Linked DNA regions of Homo sapiens: region 2 is linked to region 1. Evidence: promoter capture Hi-C in 16 types of primary human blood cells and fetal thymus (Javierre and others, 2016). All regions are on one chromosome and are shown on one strand. The core of a region is centred on a gene start or on the middle of the fragment in contact, and the rest is flanking DNA. Distances in the headings are between cores, read along the strand shown. Region 1 holds the start of LINC01063 (long intergenic non-protein coding RNA 1063). Region 2 has its middle 14 kb from the start of SMCO1.

Region 1 (5,427 bases), core at 1,666-4,165:
TGGCAGTTGCAGTGAGCTGAGATCGTGCCATTACACTCCAGCCTGGGCAATAAGAGCGAAACTCCATCTCCACAAAAAAGAAAGAAGGAGGAAAGAAACGAAGAGAGGGAAGGAAGGAATGATGGCGGTCAACCCACTTTGTATAATTCTCTAGCTGTTGCCCTCTGAGGGTGTGGGGATCTCTTTTCTTTCTTAAACTAAGCTTCATAAGAGTTTGTCACTTGTGGGACTTCTCAGCCTCCCAAGGAGATCAAAGGGAGCCTTGGCTTCTGCCCTCCACCCCGACCCCTGACTGCTTTTCCAGATGGCAACCTATTCAAGACCAGGGGAGGGGGCTACAGCTGGCCTGTGAGAGGGGACACAACTCGGTGTGCAAGGGAGCCATGGGAGGAGCCAGGGCTGCTCCCCACTCCAGACAGGTCTGTGAGAGAGGAGCACAGGGATTGCACCTAGCAGTGGAGCCATGGGGACCTGGAACTGGCGGCTCACCCCGGGCAAAATCATGGTCCTCTTGCTCCTGCCTCTGGGGTTCTCCGCTGTGCTGTGGGCTCTCAGCCGCTGGCCACAGACAGGCCCTTCACCTTGGTGGCGGAGCAGTGAGCTAGATAGAGCCTCCCCAACTTCTCCCAGCCCCCACTTCTCCAGCCCCCACTTCTCCAGCCTCCACTTCTCTAGCCCCCACTTCTCCAGACCCCACTTCTCCCAGCCCCCACTTCTCTAGCCCCCACTTCTCCCAGTCCCCACTTCTCCCAGCCCCCACTTCTCTAGCCCCCACTTCTCCCAGTCCCCACTTCTCCAGCCTCCACTTCTTCAGCCCCCACTTCTCCAGACCCCAGTTCTCCAGCCCCCACTTCTCCCAGCCCCCCCTTTCCAGCCCCCAGTTCTCCAGCCCCCAGTTCTCCTAGCCCCGACTTCTCCAGCCTCCACTTCTCCTAGCCCCCACTTCTCCAGTTCTCCAGCCCCCACTTCTCCAGCCTCAGCACATGGCAGGGAGGGGATTTCCTTTGGGGCCTTAACTGGGAATTGTTCTCTTGCCCCACGTCAGCTGGCTGCTGGGGGAGAGTGTTCAGTAGTTTCATTTCCCTCATTTGGAACGGAGTTTTTAAGAACCAAGAATTAAAACCGGAAAGAGGAGAGCCCACCGCCCACATTGGTACCACTCAACGCCTCATGATGCCCATCCTGGAAAAGCGGAGGGGTCAATGCAGAGGCTGAAGGCAGTGCGGGGGTGGGGTGGGGCTGGGGGCTCTTCCCCGCGTGTTTCTCCTCCTGGAGGAGGTGGCGGTCTCCAATCCTGAGATCAGCTCCTCTAGCTCCCTGCTGCCCATGGCCTCCCGCAGCCACTGACTCCGGTGACTGACCTCTGTGGGGACACTGCCTCTTCCTGTCCTGAAACACCGACAGTATCAACATATGATCAAAGAGTCCAGGTGGTGCAAAGATAACATGGAAGTGTCCTATCAGTGCCAGGGCGTGGAGTGGGACAGCGAGGGGAAGGGGCACCCATAACTAACCATGGTCTGGTCCAGGGCCGAAAGGACCTTGGGGAAAATGGGCACGCGGTGCTGGGAGAGTCCTGGGAGCGGGAGAGCACGAAGGGCACAGCCGCTGGGACAGTGCAGCCCAAACTTTCTGGAAGTGTGAACTGGACCCTCCTGGGGTGGGACCTGGCATGGGGTAGGACACTAGGGATCCAACAAGGAAAATAAGGCCATGCCAAGGAGGAGGCTGCAAGGGGATGGCTTTGTGGCTGACTCTGTCCAGCGTTTCCCATGGGGCGTCCCAGCTCATCTTTGCAGTTTTGCCTTCCCCCTGGACAGTGAGTCCTGCCAGGCAGGGTCTCTGGCTTGTTCACATTTGTATATATCCCCAAGAATACTTGGTCTAGCACCTTGTAGGGGCTCAGCACAGGCTAAAGTGTCATTTGCTCTAGAGCTGTTGGAGAGGTTGAGGACTTAGTCATTTGTGGTCATTGATAAGTCCTCTTTCTTTTCTTTCTTTGCTTTTTTCTTTTCTTCTTCTTCTTCTTCTTCTTTTTTTTTTTGACGGAGTTTCGCTCTTGTTGCCCAGGCTGGAGTACAGTGGCACGATCTCGGCTCACGGCAACCTCCGCCTCCTGGGTTCAAGCGATTCTCCTGCCTCAGCCTCCCAAGTATCTGGGATTGCAGGCATGTACCACCACGCCTGGCTAATTTTTGTATTTTTAGTAGAGACAAAGTTTCACCATGTTGTCCAGGGTGGTCCCGAACTCCTGACCTTAGGCGATCCGCCGGCCTCAGCCTCCCAAAGTGCTGGGATTACAGGTGTGAGCCACCGCGCCCGGCCGAGAAGTCCTTTCTCATAATTGGTGAATATAAATCCCGGAGTCCTCACCACAGGCTCCGGGCCCTGCATGATCCGGGCCCCGCTGGATTCGGCCCCTTCTCTGCTCCCTCTGACTTCACGCCCTATCACTCTGCTCCTCACTTCCTCTGCAAAAAGCCTAGCACCCTCCGGCAGCTCCTCCTTGGAGCCGGCTCTGGCTCCAAACAAAAGATACCCAAACAAAGGCAAGAAAGTGGTGAATTCCTAGAACCGGGAGGGCGCGGGCTCGGGGGCCAGCTGCAGGTTCCTGAGACGTGGGAGAGGAGGAGGAGTGAACACAGACCGCAGGCCAGTGAGTGGAGCAAGGTGCAAACTGCCAGAGAGCGGAGGCCCGGCCCGAAGACCCCAGACTCGCCTCCCGCCCACCCGCCCCCACGTGAAAAGGCACCAGATCCTAAGCGCTAACAGCGAAGGGCGGGACCGGCAGAGGGCTCCCTGCGGCGCCTCTCGAGGCGCGAGCGACCGGAAGGAAAGGCGGGAGGCTCAGCAGCGCGGCGGTGGGAGGAGCGCGCCCTTGCTGATTTCATGGAGGCCCGGGGCCGCGGGCGCTGTTCTCCTTCCTGTGCCGAGTGTGGTTTGCTATCAAGCGGTGGCAGTTCAGCCACAATCAGGGGCAGGGGGAGGGAGAGGCCCCCCGAAGAGGCAGAGGCCCTGCCTCGGCCGCCCTGAGCCTGGAAGGTGATTGGCTAGAGCGACTCCCGGCCGGGAGCGGAATGAATGGCGGGGACCGGGGCCTCTGGGTGGTGCGAGGTATGTTGGGAGGTGCGGGTTTTAATCGGCAGTTGGGCAGTTTAGCCACACGGGCCGGGGGCAGGGTGGGGCTGGCAGAGAAGGGAAGCTGGTGAGGCGGAAACAGGGAGGAGTAGGTTTTTCTTTCTTCTCACACCGGCAAACCAGAGGAAGCTTAACCTATCGGAACCAATTACTAGCATGAACCTAGCACTGAGCTCAAAGGCTGAATTTTAGACCTTTCACTGCTCCCATGCACACCCTGCCTGGTCACGGCTTCTCACCGTCTTTACCAAGATCAGTCACACCTGTGAAGCCCTGCTCATTCATCTCGCCAATTCCCTTCTACAGGACCCAGTGCCCAGACGCCACTACCCAATTCCCCCAGCCTTGGAATCTCCTCCTCTCTGCCAGGTCCTCACCACTGTGTTCTTGGCGATTTCACTAAAGATTCACCTCCTCAAAACTGGCCCCAATTAGTCCCACCCTGTTCAACCTACTATCTCCACTTAACGGCAAATGGCACCTGACACCCTCAGAAGTCAGACTCCTGGCAACTACAATTACCCAAAATACGGCAGAAAACTGTCTCGAAGCCCAGGCAACTGATTCTTGGGAGAAGCTGACTCATGCTTGGCCTCTACCTAGAGAAATAATTCATATTTAGAGCTGTGAGAATAGATAGCAAAGAGAGAGTAAGAAAAAAGATGCATAAATATGTACTAACACGTTTTTATAATTGCTTTTGTGTTCTTCCTGACAGCATCATGTTGCCTTTTAATATGGAGCATGTGCCATAGCTCTCCAGGAGAACCCCTCTGTGTCACAGCGAACCTCAGTCACTGACACTCAAAAGAAGGAATTATTTCAACTCAATAATAAACAAATAACCCTATTTTAAAATCAGCAAAGGGTGTTACCACATTTCCACAGAAGGTATACAAATGGCCAGTAATCATGTGAAAAGATGCTTGATATCATTTGTCATCAGGGAAATGCAAATCAAAACTGCAATGAGAGGCCAGGCGCTGTGGCTCACACCTGTAATCCCAGCGCTTTGGGAGGCTGAGGCAGGTGGATCGCTTGAGCCCAGGAGTTCAAACCCAGCCTGACCAACATGGTGAAACCCCGTCTCTACAAAAAAATACAAAAATTAGCCGGGCACAGTGGCCTGTGCCTGTAATCCCAGCTACTCAGGAGGCTGAGGCAGGAGACTCACTTGAACCCAGGAGGCAGAGGTTGCAGTGAGCCGAGATTGTGCCATTGCACTCCAGCCTGGGTGACGGGAGTGAAACCCTGTCTAAAAAAACCCCAAAAACAAAAACTACAATGACATATCACTTTATATGCACTAGGATGCCTAGCATCAAAAGGTCAAATAAAACAAGTATGTGGAGAAACTGCGACCCTCATACACTGCTGGTGGGAATGTAAGATGGTGCAGAAACTTTGGAAAGGAGTCTGGCAGCTCCTCAAAAGGTAAAAGCATGGAGTTATCAGGTGGCTCACAAATTCCATTCCTAGGGACCTAAAAGAAATGAAGACATGCTATACAAACACCTGAAGACATGCTATACTAACACCTGAAGCCATGCTATACTAACACCCGAACATGAATGTTCAGAACAGCATCATTCATGATTACCAAGAAGTGGAAAAAACCCAAATGTCCATCAACTAACTGACGAGTGGATACAGTATATCCATGCAGTGGAATTTCTTTTTCTCTTTCTTTCTTTCTTTTCTTTCTCTTTCTTTCTTTCTTTTTCTTTCCTTCTTTCTTTCTTTCTTCTTTCTTCTTTTTTTTTTTTTTGATGGGATCTCTTTCTGTCACCCAGGCTGGAGTTCAGTGATGCTATCTCAGCTCACTGCAACCTCCTCCTGGGCTCAAGCGATCCTCCCACCTCAGCCTCCCCAGTAGCTGGGACCACAGGTGCCTGCCACCACACCCGACTAATTTTTTGTATTTTTGGTAGAGATGGGGTTTCTGCCCAGGCTGGTCTTGAACTTCTGAGCTCAAGCGATCCACCCGCCTCAGCCTCCCAAAGTGCTGGGAATACTGGCTTGAGCCACTGCGCCCAGCTATGCAGTGGAACATTTCTCAGCCATAGAAGAGAATAAAGTACTGATACATGCTACAACAGGGACAAACTTTGAAAACATTATGCTAAGTGAAAAAAGTCAGTCACAAATGATCACATGTTACATGATTTCATTTACATGAATTGTTCAGAGAAGGCAAATCTGTAGAGAGAGAAAGATTAGTGGTTACCTAGGTCTGGGGGTTTGGGGGAAAATGGGAGTGACTGGTAATGGGTATGGGGTTTCCTTTTG
Region 2 (5,080 bases), core at 1,091-3,590, 100 kb after region 1:
GGTAGTACCAGCTACTCAGGAGGCTGAGGCAGGAGAGCCACTTGAACCCAGGAGGTGGAGGTTGCAGTGAGCTGAGATCACGCCACTGCACTCCAGCCTGGGTGACAGAGCAAGACGAAAGAAAAGAAAGGCGGGCAGGCGGGCAGGCGGGCAGGCGGGCGGGCAGGCGGGCGGGTGGGCGGGCAGGCAGGCAGGCGGGCGGGCGGGCATCTACAGATGAACGACTAAGTGAAAAATGGGTTTAGTAAGGTTGCTGAATAAAAAGGTAAATATAGAAAAATTGGTCGTATTTATAACAGCAATAAGAAAAACATTAAACACTACTTACAACAGCATCAAGAAACATCAAATACCTAGTAATAAATCTAATGGAAAACATGCAAAAACTCTACAAAGGAAACTACAAAACACGACCGAGGAAAATTAAAGAGAATCTAAATAAAGATACGTATCATATTCATGAATTAGAAGGCTAAATATTATGAAGATGTCAATGTAATTCTACTCAATATCCCAGCTCATAGCGTTCTAAAAATTAGCAAGCTTATTGAAAATTTTATATGAAAATGCAAATGGCCCAGAATACCCCAGATAATCTTGAAGAGCATAGCTGGAGGACTCACACTGTATGTTATTAAGACTTTTTAATGAAGCCAAAATAATTAAGGTTGAGTGTGATTTGGGCACAAGAATAAATAAGCAGACCAATGGAACAGAATAGAGGATAGAAATAGATGCTTGCATGTATGCAAACTTGATTAATGACAAAAGTCCACTGCAGAGCAGTGAGGAAACTCTTTATAATAAATGGGATTGAGTCAGTTGTATATCCATATGGAGAAGAAAAGAATCTTGACCTTCTTCACATTAATCCAAAGGTCTAAATTTTAGGCATATTACAGATATAAATGTAATAGGTAAAGTGGTGAAGCTTCTAAAAGGAAAAAAATATTTTCATGACCTTGGGGTAGGAAAAATTTCATATATAAGACATCAAAATGAAAACATGATAAATTGGACTACTTGAAAATTAAGAACATTAGTTCATGAAAACACACCATCAAGATGATGAAAAGAAAGCCACGGAGTGGACCGGGTGCGGTGGCTCAAGCCTGTAATCCCAGCACTTTGGGAGGCCGAGGCAGGCGAATCATGAGGTCAAGAGATCGAGACCATCCTGCCCAACATGGTGAAACCCCGTCTCTACTAGAAATACAAAAATTAGCTGGGCTTGGTGGCATGTGCCTGTAGTCCCAGCTATTCAGGAGGCTAAGGCAGGAGAATCACTTGAACCCGGGAGGCAGAGGTTGCAGTGAGCCGAGATCGTGCCATTGCACTCCAGCCTGGGCGACACAGAGAGACTACATCTCACAAAAAAAAAAAAAAAAAAAAAGATACAATGCACTTTGGGTATTCAGGGGAAAGGGTGGGAAGGGGGCGAGGGATAAAAGACCACACGTTGGGTACCGTGTACACTGCTCGAGTGATGGCTGCACCAAATCTCAGAAATCACCACTGAAGAACTTATGAAACCAAACACCACCTGTTCCCCAAAAACCTATTGAAATAAATAAAAAGTAAGTAAAATATAAAAATGGTAAATTTTGTTATGTATATTTTTGCACAATTTAAACAAACTTTTCTGGCTCACACCTGTAATCCCAGCACTTTGGGAGGCCAAGGCGGGAGGACCACTTGAGCCCAGGAGTTGGAGACCAGCCTGGGCAACGTAGCAAGACTATGTCTTAATTAATTAATTAATTAATTAATTTATGGAGACAGAGTCTCGCCCTGTCACCCAGGCTGGAGTGCAATGGCACGATCTTGGCTCACTACAACCTCTGCCTTCTGGGTTCAAGCGATTCTCCTGCCTCAGCCTCCCGAGTAGCTGGGATTACAGGTGCGCGCCACCACGCCCGGCTAATTTGTTGTATCTTTAGTAGAGATGGGGGTTTCACCATGTTGGCCAGGCTGGTTTCGAACTCCTGACCTCGTGATCCGCCAGCCTCAGCCTCCCAAAGTGCTGGGATTACAGGCGTGAGCCACCGTGCCCGGCCTCAGAAGCTCCACAGTGGGCCTCTTCTTATATTTCATGGGCCAGAATTCTGCCACCTGTCCGTTCCTAAACCAATGATAACGGCAATAATAATAAAATTGCTGTGATTGATTTATTCTAAGACTCACCCCCAACTCTCACACTGGGAAGGGGCTCAGCTTCCCCTGAAGCACGTGGCTGCCCAATACTCAAACAATATCTGGATTTTGCTAAGGAGAAAAAAGTAGTGGCGGGGATCAGGGAGGACCCAGCAAGGTTTTTCTCACTGGGGCAGGGACTGATTCCCTGAGGACGCCGAAGTTCTTCCGGAGACGCACCTGAGACGGACTGACTCCCACCCCGGAGTCCCTGCGGAGTTATAAATGTCCCTTAGATCTGTCCCCTCAGCTCTCCATTCCGGGGACCAGTGTTCTGAGCTCGGCCGCCATCGCCTCACGCTCAGCGACGGGCGTGGCCGGGAGCCGCCTGCGGATGGAGGAAGCGGCCGCCAGCGCCCCCTGGAGGCTCGGGCCGGCTCCACTCCCGCGGCCCCCGCCACCGCCCAGCTCCCCGCGGAGGCGCCCAGGCCGGTCTGAGCCCGACAGGGCGGAACCACCGCGGCGGCGCTGCCCTGAGTGGAAATGCGGCCTCCGCAGCGGGAGAAGATGCTGGGAGCCGGATGGGGCCCGGAGGCGCGACACCGCAGTTCTCCGTACTTGAAGACACCCATCCAGGCCACCTTTTCAGTCGGCTGCAGGGACACGTCCTACAAGGGCGTGCTGGAGGCTGAGCTAGCAAAGCTGGGGCGAGGGCGGGACGGTGGATCATTCGCAGACACATCATCACACCAGGGTGTCCGGCACCTTACCCAAGGCCAGGAATAGCAACTCAGATGTTAAATCGTGTCAAACATCTGTGGAGAAGATGGCACCTTTTTCTTCTCCTTCTTTCTCTCTCTCTCTCTCTTTCTTTTTTTTTTTTTTTTTTTTTTTTTTTTTTTTTTTTTTTTTGAGATGGAGTCTCGCTCTGTCACCCAGGCTGGAGTACAGTGGCGCGATCTCGGCTCACTGCAACGTCCACCTCCCGGGTTCAAGTGATTCTCCTGCCTCAGCCTCCCGAGTAGCTGAGATTAGAGGCATGTGCTACCACGCCCGGCTAATTTTTGTATTTTTAGTAGAGACGGGGTTTCACCATGCTGGCCTGGCAGGTCTTGAACTCCCGACCTCAGGACATCCGCCCGCCTTGGCCTCCCAAAGTGCTGGGGTTACAGATGGGAGCCACCGCGCCTGGCTAATTTTTGTGTTTTTAGTAGAGACGGGGTTTCACCATATTGGCCAGGCTAGTTTCGAACTCCTGTACTCTAGGGATCTGCCTACTTCAGCCTCCCAAAGTGCTGGGATTACAGGCATAAGCCACTGCCCAGCCAAGATGGCACTTTTGACAACATCTGTTTGTCCAGATCAGCAATGAGTCAGCAATTGACTTCTACAGAAGTTTGGCTTTGAGATGACTGAGACAAAGACAGATAAAGGATAAGAGGATGGAGCCTGCAGATGCTCAGGAGTTGCAGAAAAACCTCAAAGTCCCTTCCGATCAGAATGGAGATATGCAAAACACAACTGAACAAGTCACAAAATGAACCTTCTTGCACTTGCTTGTTGACAAAAAAAGACAAGCCCATTGATTTTCACCCCCTCTTTCTTGTAAAGCTTTCCTGCACTGCCATGTTTTTGTTTTTCCTTCTTTCTTTTCTTTTCAAAGTTTTAATACTTTCAAGGACTTTAAAAATGATCATGTTTGGGCCAGGCGCAGTGACTCACTCCTGTAATCCCAGCACTTTGGGAGGCCAAGGTGGGTGGATCACTTGAGGTCAGGAGTTCCAGACGAGCCTGGCCAACATGGTGAAACCCCATCTGTACTAAAAATACAAAAATTAGCCAGGCGTGGTGGCGTGTGCCTGTAGTCCCAAGCTACTCAGGAGCCTGAGACAGGGGAATCGCTTGAACCTGGGAGGCAGAGGTTGCAGTGAGCCGAGATCGTGCCACTGCACTCCAGCCTGGGCCACAGAGCAAGACTCCATCTCAAAAAAAAAAAAAAAAAAAAAAAAAAAAAAAAGATCATGTTTGGATTGTTTCAGTTCTCTTATTTTTGTGAGGTGGTTTGACTGAAGGCAGGAGAAGGTAGATCTGTTTAATTTCACAGTTAAGATAAATGGTTCTAAAAATTTAGGTGTCAAATAATTTCACATTTCTTAGCTTGGAGTTGGAGACCAGCCTGGGCAACATAGCAAGACTCTGTCTCTATTTTTTTTTTTTGGAGACGGAGTCTCACACTGTTGCCCAGGCTGGAATGCAATGGCGAGATCTCAGCTCACTGCAACCTCCGCCTTCTGGGTTCAAATGATTCTCCTGCTTCAGCCTCCTGAGTAGCTGGGACTACAGGCGCCTGCCACCACGTCCGGCTAATTTTGGTATTTTCTTAGTAGAGACAGGGTTTCACCATGTTGGCCAGATGGTCTTGATTTCTTGACTTCATGATCCGCCTGCCTCGGCCTCCCAAAGTGCTGGGATTACAGGCGTGAGCCACCGAGCCTGGCCCTCTTAGTTGTTTTTTCTTAGTCCTGCTTTCACATCGAAGGGCAGAGCCTACAAAATATTGTACATTTCAAAAGACAGAAAGAAGCAGCAGTGATATCTTGTTTTCTAATTCATAGACGAGTTTAGTGTGCTTGTGGTACCTTGGGCTTTGAAAGCCTTTGTGGGATACCAATCCCTAGACATTATCTTCACTCCAGCTTTAGTCCTTCCGAGCACTCTCAGGAGTAGCACCGTTGCTATCTCTGGAAGAAATGCTGAGCATATTTATTATTATTATTATTATTTTGGAGACAGAGTCTTGCTCTGTCGCCCAGGCTGGAGTGCAGTGGCGGATCTCGGCTCATTGCAAGCTCCGTCTCCTGAGTTTAGGCGATTCTCCTGCCTTAGCCTCCCGAGGTAGCTGGGACTACAGGCACGCGCCACCACGCCCGGCTAATTTTTGTGTTTT

What was found. Contacts are between HindIII fragments. The CHiCAGO score rates a contact against its expected background, and 5 or more counts as called.
Region 2: a contact is called between a fragment that was not itself captured here and the fragment with the promoter of LINC01063 in region 1, in 1 of 17 cell types (M2 macrophages). The highest score is 5.2, in M2 macrophages.

What each region holds. Positions count from the first base shown.
Region 1 is chr3:196,630,075-196,635,501 of GRCh38, reverse strand. LINC01063 (long intergenic non-protein coding RNA 1063) reads left to right here and starts at 2,915. Exons shown (of 2, transcript NR_132101.1): 1 at 2,915-3,114; 2 at 3,857-3,998. RefSeq lists enhancers at 1-432, 2,493-3,247 and a silencer at 3,024-3,103. The HindIII fragment of the contact is 3,065 bases long and covers 205-3,269 here.
Region 2 is chr3:196,526,411-196,531,490 of GRCh38, reverse strand. It overlaps the pseudogene NAA50P2. Among named protein-coding and RNA genes, the nearest start is that of SMCO1, 14 kb to the right of the region's middle. RefSeq lists a silencer at 2,434-2,733 and an enhancer at 3,504-3,573. The HindIII fragment of the contact is 2,813 bases long and covers 934-3,746 here.